Regions from separate parts of the Homo sapiens genome. Here regions 1, 3 and 4 are each linked to region 2. Evidence: promoter capture Hi-C in human tissues and cell types (Jung and others, 2019). All regions are on one chromosome and are shown on one strand. The core of a region is centred on a gene start or on the middle of the fragment in contact, and the rest is flanking DNA. Distances in the headings are between cores, read along the strand shown.

The links. The method cuts DNA at HindIII sites, captures the fragments that hold promoters and counts their contacts. A contact is called where the count stands out against the background at its distance.
Region 1: a contact is called between a fragment that was not itself captured here and the fragment with the promoter of PTPRM in region 2, in 2 of the 25 tissues and cell types used here (dorsolateral prefrontal cortex and mesenchymal stem cells).
Region 3: a contact is called between a fragment that was not itself captured here and the fragment with the promoter of PTPRM in region 2, in 1 of the 25 tissues and cell types used here (dorsolateral prefrontal cortex).
Region 4: a fragment that was not itself captured here is called in contact with the fragment with the promoter of PTPRM in region 2 in 1 of the 25 tissues and cell types used here (IMR-90 fibroblasts).

The regions. Positions count from the first base shown.
Region 1 is chr18:8,126,216-8,128,915 of GRCh38, reverse strand. The region is part of intron 13 of PTPRM (protein tyrosine phosphatase receptor type M); the gene reads right to left. Among named protein-coding and RNA genes, the nearest start is that of RAB12, 480 kb to the left of the region's middle. The HindIII fragment of the contact is 3,659 bases long and covers 1-2,700 here.
Region 2 is chr18:7,566,022-7,568,721 of GRCh38, reverse strand. It overlaps PTPRM (protein tyrosine phosphatase receptor type M), which reads right to left and starts at 1,406. Exons shown (of 33, transcript NM_001105244.2): 1 at 831-1,406. The coding sequence starts at 903. RefSeq lists a silencer at 1,356-1,725. The HindIII fragment of the contact is 7,623 bases long and covers 1-2,700 here.
Region 3 is chr18:8,150,625-8,153,324 of GRCh38, reverse strand. The region is part of intron 14 of PTPRM (protein tyrosine phosphatase receptor type M); the gene reads right to left. Among named protein-coding and RNA genes, the nearest start is that of RAB12, 460 kb to the left of the region's middle. The HindIII fragment of the contact is 5,911 bases long and covers 1-2,700 here.
Region 4 is chr18:8,093,675-8,096,374 of GRCh38, reverse strand. The region is part of intron 11 of PTPRM (protein tyrosine phosphatase receptor type M); the gene reads right to left. Among named protein-coding and RNA genes, the nearest start is that of RAB12, 510 kb to the left of the region's middle. The HindIII fragment of the contact is 7,507 bases long and covers 1-2,700 here.

The sequences.
Region 1 (2,700 bases), core at 185-2,684, 560 kb before region 2:
TGGTTTCCTTCATCACACTGCTGATAGAAAAGAAAACCACAAAATGGTATCAAAAAATTAAATTGTTTTTATACATTGAAAATCTTTTACATAGAAATTCTTAAGTTTACATAATACAAATGGAAAATAATACTATTTCAGTGCAATATAGAGATTTTAAAATATATTGTTTCTGAAATCAAATACTTGACATTTGACTCAGTATTCCATTCCAAAAAATGACAAGAAAAAAGCAACAGCATCCCTCATGGCATGCCTGTATCCTCTCACCATTTTCTTGTAACTATACTGTTTTATAGATGAAACTGCCACAGCAAAATGACAAATATAACACATAAAAGAACAAAAAGGGCAATAAATCAACAGTGACACTATAGCCCATTAAAATGCAGTCAGCTGGTATTGCAGAAAGAATAAAATTTTACCCTCATTTTACATTCTTTCTAGCCAGAAAGGAAATTTCAGAATCCTCAAGCAGCCCTTGAAAGAGATGCTGAAAATCTCAAAAATCTCAAATTCTCCTCACACCAACCCTCTATATTAACTTCCGTAGCTGAAACACATAGCACTGATATCCCCCTCTGCCATTTAATATGAAATGCCCACAACAGTGTGTGTGAATTGTTAATCATCTTATATTTACAGAATACTACATTTGACAAAAAGTAAGATACCTAGTTAGTTGGAAAATGGTAGTTTTAAGTTAGCCACTACTTTCAATCAGTTGGTTATCTGCTTAAATGAAGAGTTTAGCCATCTTTTATTTACAAAGAAATCTAAAGGAGGCATTTTCTTCCCTTAATTTTTATCCAAAATTCTCTCAAAAGGTTAAATTGAAGCTTCTGACACTGAAAATGACTCTGGTATCATAGAGATAGTACGTTTTCGAGTGCAACTGAGTATATGTTAACTTAGTTCATTACCCACTTACCACTATTACAAATAGTTCAAGGTGTTGGTAAGCTTATGGAAGTGGAGCATTTATTGAACTGTTTATGTTGGTCTTAACAAAGGCACTAAATATAAGTTCCTGCAGAGCAAAGAGCATACCCTACACTTCCATGAATGTTCCTCCTCTCTTATGTAGAGCTCATGGTAGGGCCAGCTCTCCTAGGGGGTGAAAGCGCATCGATGGAAACAATGAATGAGTGAATGAATGAATGAATGAATGATAGCTTCTCTAGTAGTAGAGGATAGTGCTCACAGGACAGCTCCCTAAAGCTACATATTTCAGGGACAGAAAGCTGCAACTTTGGTTTCTGTCAGAGCTAAACTGTATGCACCGTCTGAAGGAAGGCTAACTGGAGGGGGTCTGTGTAGCTCTTGGTCCAGTTGCCCCTCCTGAAACCACATTCACCCTGACTGCAGTCACAGGTGGAAGTGCCACTGTGGCAAGGATGTTATTTTTTTTAAAAAGCAGTGTGAAAATTAGTTCACCCTTCAAGGGAATTTTATCTTTTACAAATAACTTCATCCCATCAAAAAAAAAAAAAAAAACAATACAGCTGGACTCTGAGTGCCGTTCATGTGCCAAGCACTGAGTGGCAGGCTGAGGAAAGTTTAAAGATATATAAAATATGGCCCCTGGAAGGGATTCTAAGCATTCCTTTGATATGGCTGACCCTGTCCCTTAAGTTCCCTAGCATGTGCTCCTCCATGCTGGCTGCAGCTGATCCATTCCCCATGACCAGTACTTACTGTATTAATTCCTGGCTTTTACCTCTTCTATTCACATCTACTTACTCTGTTCTTTTTTTTCCAGTGTGTTGGACAGTCTTCCATTTCTTATAGTTTTACTTTTGGTCTTTTGGCCTTTTTCATCTCTTCTCCAATGTTTCTAGTGTGGCTTGGAGTACACAGTGCAAAACTGATCCTTTCTGTCTCTCCTAAAACACTCCAATTGTTTCCCACTCCTCCTGGGATCAAGACCAAAGTCCTTAATGTAAGGTACACGGTCACAGTTGGCCTTGCTCTGCCTGTATCACCTTACTGCTCACCCCACACATCCTTTTCGCTCTCTGCTCTCCAGCCATGATGACCTTTCTGCAATTCTTCATATCTGACCATGCTTCATCACACCACCGGACCTTTGTACCTGCTGTTACTGCTACTAACTAAGCTAATGTTCAGTAAACAATCCCACCATCTTCAAGCCATATACTGTCCTCCTTGCTACTCAGTGTGGCTAAGATCCAATCAGTTATATCTTCATCTTACAAATAGAGAACCTTGGGTCCCCAGAAGGACAGACATTATCTACCTACATCTTAGCTCTGCCACGGTTTACTGAAGATAAAGAGGACTTAGGATGTGAAATGGGATCTGACTGGTGGGAAGTAGAGAAATGGACAGACAGTCAGCAGAGTAGGAGGAAAACAGATAATGTTGGTGGGAGTGGCTGGGTCATTCTCTTAGAAAATCAATTAACATTCAACCTTTTTATGGCTCTTGCCAAAAGAAATGGGTGATCGAAATTATGCTTTTGTAAGTGGGTTGAAAAACCATTGGTTTGTTTTATTTGCAATGGAAAAGCTTATTAAATTTATATATATATACATATTAAAAAGAGATATTTTGTAATCTTGCATAAAGTAACATAAAATCAGTCAAAAGAAGACAAAATAAACCAATTTCAAAATATTCCTCCCCTCAATCAAAATTTACTCACAATAATAAATGAAAGCTATACAATACCTAGGA
Region 2 (2,700 bases), core at 157-2,656:
GCACACACTCACACGCTTGCTCGCACACCGCCAGTGCCTCTCCTTCCCACCTGGGACCCCCGGGCAGCCGGGCTGGATGAACAAGTTGCAGCTGGCCGCGGCGCTCCGCTAGGGGGACGAGGGTGGGGAGGGGGAGCCCAGCGGGGCGCAGGGCCGTGGCCAGGGCCTGGGGACCTGCCCGCTTCCCTCCGCGGCCGCCAAGCCCTACCGCTGGGACCGGCGAGGAACTCCCCCCAGCCTCTCCGCAGACGCTGCACGACCGCGGGGACCTCCCGGGGTCGCCAGCCGCGCCGGGCAGGGGGCGACAGGGAGGGCAGGGCACCGGGAGATCGCCGCCGCCGGAGCGGCCGCCAGTTCCCGGCGATCGCTGCGGGCGCAGCCGAACACCAGCGGCCTGGGCCCGGCCGCTGCTCGGGGTCGGCGGGGACCGCGCAGCGCCTACGCCAGGCGGCCCGGCGGCTGCAACTGGGAACTTCAAGCAAAGTTTTCTGCTGTTCCTTTTGCAGCCGGCCAGGGACTCAAGAGTGCAAGCCGCCCAACCTTGAGCACTAGCCCAGGCCGCGGAAGGACGGCGGCCGAGCTGGCAGTCCCGGCTGGGGAGCTCGCCCTCGGGGTCCGTCCGCTCCGCCCGCCCGAGGACTGGGTGCCTGCCAGCCCCACGGCCCCTCGCCCAGCGCCCGGCTCACAGGCAGAAGCGGTGTCCGGCCCGCCGCGCCCCCCGCCCGGCCCCGACGCCAGCCTTAGGGCTCTACCACCAGGGAGCTGTCGGCGTCCCGGGCGTCCCGCGCCGGCCCGCGCGCCTCGGGGGCGGCAGAGGCGGTCCCGCTTACCTGAGAACGTCTCGCCCGCCGCAGTTAGCAAAAGTCCGGCCAAAGTCGCCAGGCAAGTCCCAAGTCCCCTCATGGTGCTGAGTGCGGGCCGGGCCGCTCCCCGGCGGCGGTGGGTGGGCGCGCGAGGGCGGAGGGGGCCGGGAGCTTTGGTTCCGAGGCAGCGAGGAGAGACGGGTAAACAGCAGAGCGCTAAGCCAAGCCCCCAAAGTGCCAACAGTTGCAGAAGTCCGAACTCCAGCGGCTCCAGGGGCGCGGGCACAGGGTCCTGGGTCCTCCTCCCCTGTCCCTGGCCCCACTCGGCGTCTGGCGCCGCTGGCAGAGGGAGCGGAGGGCGAGCCCGCGGAGCCAAAATCTTCCCTCGGTTCCGGTTGCTGAGCTCGCCGCCTCTCCCCTTCCCCTGCCCGGGACCCGGGACCCGAGCTGCCGGCCGTGGCCGTGGCGGTGGCCGTGGCCGTGGCCGCGCGCGTTCCGCCCGCCGCCTCTCCACAGGCAGCCCCAAGCCCAGCCCCGGGCGGCGGCGCGCCGATGACCGAGCCCGCGCCGGCTGCGCGCGGGGCTCTTGCTCCCCGACTGACTGGCGGTGCCCCGCAGGCCGGCTGAAGGGAGCGCTCACGTCACGGCCGCCCGGCGCCGCCGCGGCCCGCTAGAGGGCGTGAGCGCCCGTGCCCCGCCGGCCCGCGCCCGAGCGCCTCCGGGAGCTCGGCTGGGGGCGGCCCCGCGGCCACAGCCACTACCGCCGCCGAAGCGGGCGTCAGCCGCGCGGGGAGGAGCGGCCACCGGGCTCCCCCCGCCCACCTCCTCGCCCCGGCCGCGTCTTCTATTTTGGTAGCTGGCTCTGGGGAGGGTGACTGTGGAAGAGGCTGCGCCGCCGCCAGAAGTTTGTCCCGGGTCACGAGCCGCGAGTAGTTTGTGAGCGCGGCCGGGCGGGACCAGCGGCCTGCGACCCCGCGGGCGCGGCCAGGCGGCTTCGAGCCTGGCGCCGGACGGCGATGTCACCGCACAGGGCCAGCTGCACCCGGAGTCGCCGGGCCTGCGCTGCTCGGCGGCTGCGGGAAAAGCGAGCCAGGAGATCGCTGAGGCTCCGGAGGGCTGCGAGCTTCTCTACGCCGCGGGCGGAGCGAAGTTGGCGGGCGCCGGGAGATGGCGCGGGAGCCGGGAGCGCCGAGCCCCGCGATCGCCAGCCCGCTCCCGGCCGGGCCCGCCGGGTACACGCCGCTGGCCCCGAGCACTGGCGCCCGGGAAGCAGGGCGCGCTTCTGCTGTTCTGCGTCCTCATCATGCCTCGGTGTCCCGTGTGGGCCCGAAGCGAGCCGCAGGCAGTACACGGAAGGCGGTGGTCACACCAAAACCAGGGTTTGGACATAACCCGTGGTTTCTGTATCTGGTGCAAAGTGCTGAGAAACAGGGGAGAAAGAGAAGTGGGGGGTGAATCAAGTAATGTCTTGAAATATTTTAGTTTTACGATTTTGGGTCTGAGTGAATTAAAAAAACCTTACAATGCTTCAGCAAAAAATAATTTTTTTATTTTAATTGTAAATTTTTTTGTAAGTGATCCTTCTATCTTCCAGGGAATAAGCACATTGAGCCAGCACCAACCAGACAGCTGTAAGCTCCTGGCCTAGCTAACTGAACGCAATAGAAGGCTTGGGAAGAGGTTAAATTAGGAACCAAAGTAACTGAGTGACAGGGTTCTAGCAATGATTCTGGCTAGAAGGCAAACCGGTGATACAGAGGCACCCAGGAGCTCTCCTGCACTTTTTCCGCAAGAGGGGTCCTCTGCTTAGTGCTCACTGCTTTCTAGTGCTTATAAACACGTAAAAAAATAAATGGATTCCACACTCATCTTGACCCTGTTCTCCACTGTACACCAG
Region 3 (2,700 bases), core at 159-2,658, 580 kb before region 2:
TATTGCAGAAATAGACCCTTGGAGGATTAGTTGACATTTAGCTAGGGTCACAAGGGCAACTGGATTAGTAGTTGCAGGCTATTCCTCACAGAGAACTTGCCAGATGACAAAATATATCCACCATATTCCCGGAATTAAAAATAAACCTCTTCAAAATGTTTAGTTTGGATGTCCAGGCATGGAAGGGCCTATTGTTCCTTAGGACTTACACTGGGTCATATGTTTTTAAAAAGTACAAACTACTGGTGCCAAAAATAAGCTATCTACATACACATTGAGGTGGGGAATGGACGAAGAACATCCAGGAAAGGCCAGGCGCAGTGGCTCATGCCTGTAATCCTAGCACTTTGGGAGGCTGAGGCAGGGGGATCACGAGGTCAGGAGATCAAGACCATCCTGGCTAACATGGTGAAACCCTGTCTCTACTAAAAATACAAAAATTAGCTGGGCTTGGTGGTGTGAGCCTATATTCCCAGCTACTTGGGAGGCTGAGGCAGAAGAACTGCTTGAACCCAGGAGGCGGAGGTTGCAGTGAGCTCAGATCGTGCCATTGCACTTCAGCCTGGTAACAGAACGAGACCCTATCTCAAAAAAAAAAAAAAAAAAAAAAAAGAGGTGAGGCATAAGAAAAAGAGAAAGAAAAAAGGAAATATGGGAAATATGGAGGAAAAAGGAAATAAAGAGAGAAATAGGTAAAGAAGGGTAAAGAAAAGAGGGGTAGAGAGGAATGGAATGAAAATAAATAATGAATGAAAAATAAAGATAGGAATCACACGATGGGTAGAAAAAGAGATAAACGGCACATGACAAGTGGGGAAAAACAGTTGTAATGGTGGGGACCAAAGACCAGGGATGCGCACAGCTGTGACAGAGCAACGGTTTGTCCTGGGGCTTGACTAGAACAGAACCATAAATGGAGGGAGACTCAGAAAAGGAGTAGATGCATGTATCTATACTGGAATATTAACTCGCCCTGAAATATTGCTGTTGCCAACGGTTTTACCTTCATCCTTGATATTCCTTCTTCTCACTCTACAAAAACTCTGAGGAGCCTCTTCCAAACCTATGGCTTCAGCTCCAGAAATGTTGATGACTTTCAGACTATGGAAATTATTATTTCTAGTCCACAGTAGCATATTCAACCTCCCAGTGAACATCTCCACTTAATTTTAAAGGAGTATTGAACTTAAAATGTGCAAAGCTGGGATTGCTGGCAAGATGGCTGAATAGGAACAGCTCCGGTCTGCAGCTCCCAGCGAGATCAACACAGAAGGTGGGTGATTTCTGCATTTCCAACTGAGGTATATGGTTCATCAAATTGGGACTGGTTGGACAGTGGGTGCAGCCCATGGAGGGCGAGCCGAAGCAGGGTGGGGTGTCATCTCACCCGGGAAGTGCAAGGGGTCGGGGAATTTCTTTCCCTACCCAAGGGAAGCCGTGAGGGACTGAGCCTGAGGAACCCTGCACTCCAGCTCAGATACTGCGCTTTTCCCATGGTCTTCACAACCCACAGACCAGGGGATCCCCTCTGGCGCCTAACCCCACCAGGGCCCCGGGTTTCAAGCACAAAACAAGATGGCTGTTTGGGCAGACACCGAACTAGCTCCAGGAGTTTTTTTTTTTTTTTTTTTTCCATACCCCAGTGGCTCCTGGAACGCAAGTGAGACAGAATCATTCACTCCTCTGGAAAGGGGTGCTGAAACCAGGGAACCAAGTGGTCTGCCTCAGTGGGTCCCACCCTCATGGAGCCCAGCAAACTTAGATCCATTGGCTTGAAATTCTTGCAGCCAGCACAGCAGTAGTCTGAGATTGACCTGAGATGCCCCAGCTTGGTGGGGGGCGGGGGGGGGCGGTGGGGTGCCTGCCATTGCTGAGGCTTGAGTAGGCGGTTTTCCCCTCATAGTATAAACAAAGCCACCAAGAAGTTCGAACTGGGTGGAGTCCACTGCAGCTCAGCAAGGCCACTGTGGTCAGACTGCCAGATTTCTCCTTCCTGAGCAGGGCATCTCTGAAAAAAAGGCAGCAGCCCCAGTCAGAGACTTGTAGATAAAATCCCCACCTCCCTGGGACGAAGCACCTGGGGGAAAGGGCAGCTGTGGGCGCAGCTTCAGCAGACTTAAATGTCCCTACCTGGCAGCTCTGAAGAGAACAGCAGATCTACCAGCACAGTGTTGAAGCTCTGATAAGGGACAGAGTGCCTCCTCAAGTGGGTCCCTGACCCCCGTGTATCCTGACTAGGAGACACCTCCCAGTAGGGGCCGACAGACACCTCATACAGGAGAGCTCTGAGCGGCATCTCGTGGTTGCCCCTCTGGTATGAAGCTTCCAGAGGAAGGAACAGGCAGCAATCTTTGCTGGTCTGCTGTCTCCGCTGGTGATACCCAGGCAAACAAGGTCTGGAGCGGACCTCCAGAAAACTACAGCAGACCTGCAGCAGAGGGGCCAGACTGTTAGAAGGAAAACTAACAAACAGAAAGGAATAGCACATCCACTCAAAGACCCCATCTGAAGGTCACCAACATCAAAGACCAAAGGTAGATAAATCCATAAAGATGGGGAGAAACCAGCGCAAAAAGCCTGAAAATTCCAAAACCAGAATGTCTCTTCTCCTCCAAAGGATCATAATTCCTCGCCAGCAAGGGAACAAAATTGATTGGAGAATGAGTTGACGAAGTGACAGAAGTAGGCTTCACAAGGTCG
Region 4 (2,700 bases), core at 197-2,696, 530 kb before region 2:
GGCCTCCACTGTGAAGGACATTCGAGAGCTTTCATGGAGTCTGTAGTTCCAACTCAAATATTTGCCTTTTCAGGGACAGGCATGGGTTCTTTTGGGGATAGCAAAGCAGTATGATAAAAAACTTAGGTCTTCCCCGGCCCTAGCCAAGAATGAGCCACAATCACCCACTAAGTGTGCTGCTGGCATGCCTTCTGAAGCCGAGAGAAGCATTTCACACTCTAGCTTTTAGTAACCAGAGGTGCCACCCACATCCACTGAGTAGGCATCATGGTAACACCTCAACACGTACAGTCATTGTCACAAAATTGATGGACACAGGCCCACAGCAAAGGGGTTAAGGTGCAATATAAGGAAGGTAGGAGAAGCAACAAAAGAAAGATCCAGAAGGTTCTTCCAAACAAGAGACACTAAGAACAACTTTTTACTGCTTATGAAAATTGGGGTTTAAAAATATTTATATAATTAGTGATTTCCAATGAATTATTGGAAAGTCATTGCTAGGCTAGTTTTTCAATTTCAAGCGTTCTAGTATTCACTTTAACAATACCCCAGACAGTATTTTTAACATCAATATATTCTCTTTTTTTCCTTCTAAAAAGGACTAAGTGTTTTTGATTTCTCTAAATCCTATTTCTAATGAAAATCAGCATCTGGCATTTATGAAACCCCCTTCCTCCATGCCGCCAGGGTTAGCTCTATCTTAACTGGGCCCAGCACATCCTCCAGCCTTTATGCCGCTCCTATTAGTTTGTTCTGAGGCCGCACGCCCTCTAACCCATCCTCCATTGCTGCTGCAGCTCTTCCTTACATTTTTTCCCTGACCTGAATCCCTTGAATGGCTACTTATTGGTATGGAGTACAAGGTTGTCCAATTCATCCTCTATCTCCCTTGCTTCTTCTCCCATCCCACCCCTCTCTCTGATTATAACACACTTCTCATTCTCAGATCAGGCCAAACTCAGTCCTCCCTGTCTTCATGGAGCCAACCTGTCTCTCTCATTTTTTTATTCCTTGCCACATATCTAACCTCCCTGGCAACATACTCCACATCACACAGATGCTCTGAACAACAGCCGTCTGTCAAGATTCAGCTACTTGGCCCCAGGGTTACCTCCTCTCTGAAGTCTTAGCTGACTCTTCCCTGTACTGACCACTCCCTGGTCAGGCCACTGGTTCCCATCCTCATCCCTACTTACTACAGGACACTAGATTCCATGTTGCTCTCTTTCCAATCTACATTGCCAGCCCCTGGAGAAGAGAGCCCTTAGCAGCCTCCTCCATATCCCCAATGCTTAGCACCACCTTGTGCTTGAACCTCATGAGTATTTAACAAATCCAATCCTAGCACAGCTGTAAGATATAAGGGGTATTATCCTTGCTGTGGAAAGACAGGCAAGCCCAGGCTCAGAGACCTTAAGATGGAATTTTTAACAGTGGCGTAACTACAAGTGGAGAGAGCCTGGATTTGAAACTATGCTTATCTAATTTCAAAATGTGTCCTTCTCTATGTCATGCACTCGTTTTAAAAATTAGGCCCATAATTTATGTGATATATAAAGTGAGTGATTATTTGAATATTAGAAGTTTCCTCCTTAACATTTGCCAAAGGAAGAATGAAAAATTCTGTCTAAAAGGCTATGTGCGACACTTGATATGATCTTGTATCTTAGGGGCAATAGTTGTATTAATTATTAATGGATTCAGTAGTTTCTAATTAATTTAGAGTAAGCATTATTTAGATCTGGAAACCATATATTGATTTATTTTATTTATATTTTGTTTTAAATTTTTAAAATTTAATTATAATTGAGATAGGGTCTCAATTTGTTGCCCAGGCTGGTCTTGCACTCCCAGGCTCAAGCAATCCTCCAACCTTGGCCTCCCAAAGTGCTGGGATTACAGGTTTGAACCACCGTGTCTAGCCCCTATATTGATTTATAATAGGCTAAGTTAAAATAAAGCCACTTTAAAATTTATATTACAAAACATTTATATCTTTTTTTTTTTTGAGACAGGGTCTGGCTCAGCTGCCCAAGTTGGAGTGCATAATCACAGCTCACTGCTGCCTTGACTTCCTGAGCTCAAACAATCCTCCCACCTTGGCCTCCCGAAGTGTTAGGATTACAGTCATGGGCCACTGCACCTGGCCAGAATATTTATATCTTAAGGTAAACTTTGCATTGCAAGGTTTTACACTATAAGTTTTTTGTTTCTCAAAATAATATTGTCATTCCAGCAGGAAAATACTATAAAGGGATAAACTTTTTTGAATAAATAATAGAATTTAGCTGGCTCCTCTAAGCCAGGATCAAACTCTTGAACAAACCTATTCTGATTAAAAGAACAAATTCTGGAATCTGGGGAGTGAATTCTAACATAATTATAAGGACTGAATTATTATAAAATGGCATGTAAATCACAAATATCTTTTTTTAATAAAGTGGAAAGAGATTCATATACTTAAAGGGTGACTAGAACATTAGGCTTTGTTAAGTTACGTAAGTAATACATCTCACTGGTTCTTCATACCCATGGCACATTGTGAAATTTACTATGTTGCCAAGTGTTTATTTCCTTTTAGAGTGGTTATAAACAGAAGACCGTTTTGCTTGTTTTATGGCTAAGTTTATTCAGTTAAGCTGATAATAACCACAATCACATAATGATTCAGGGATCAATAGGGAAACACATCCATTTTTT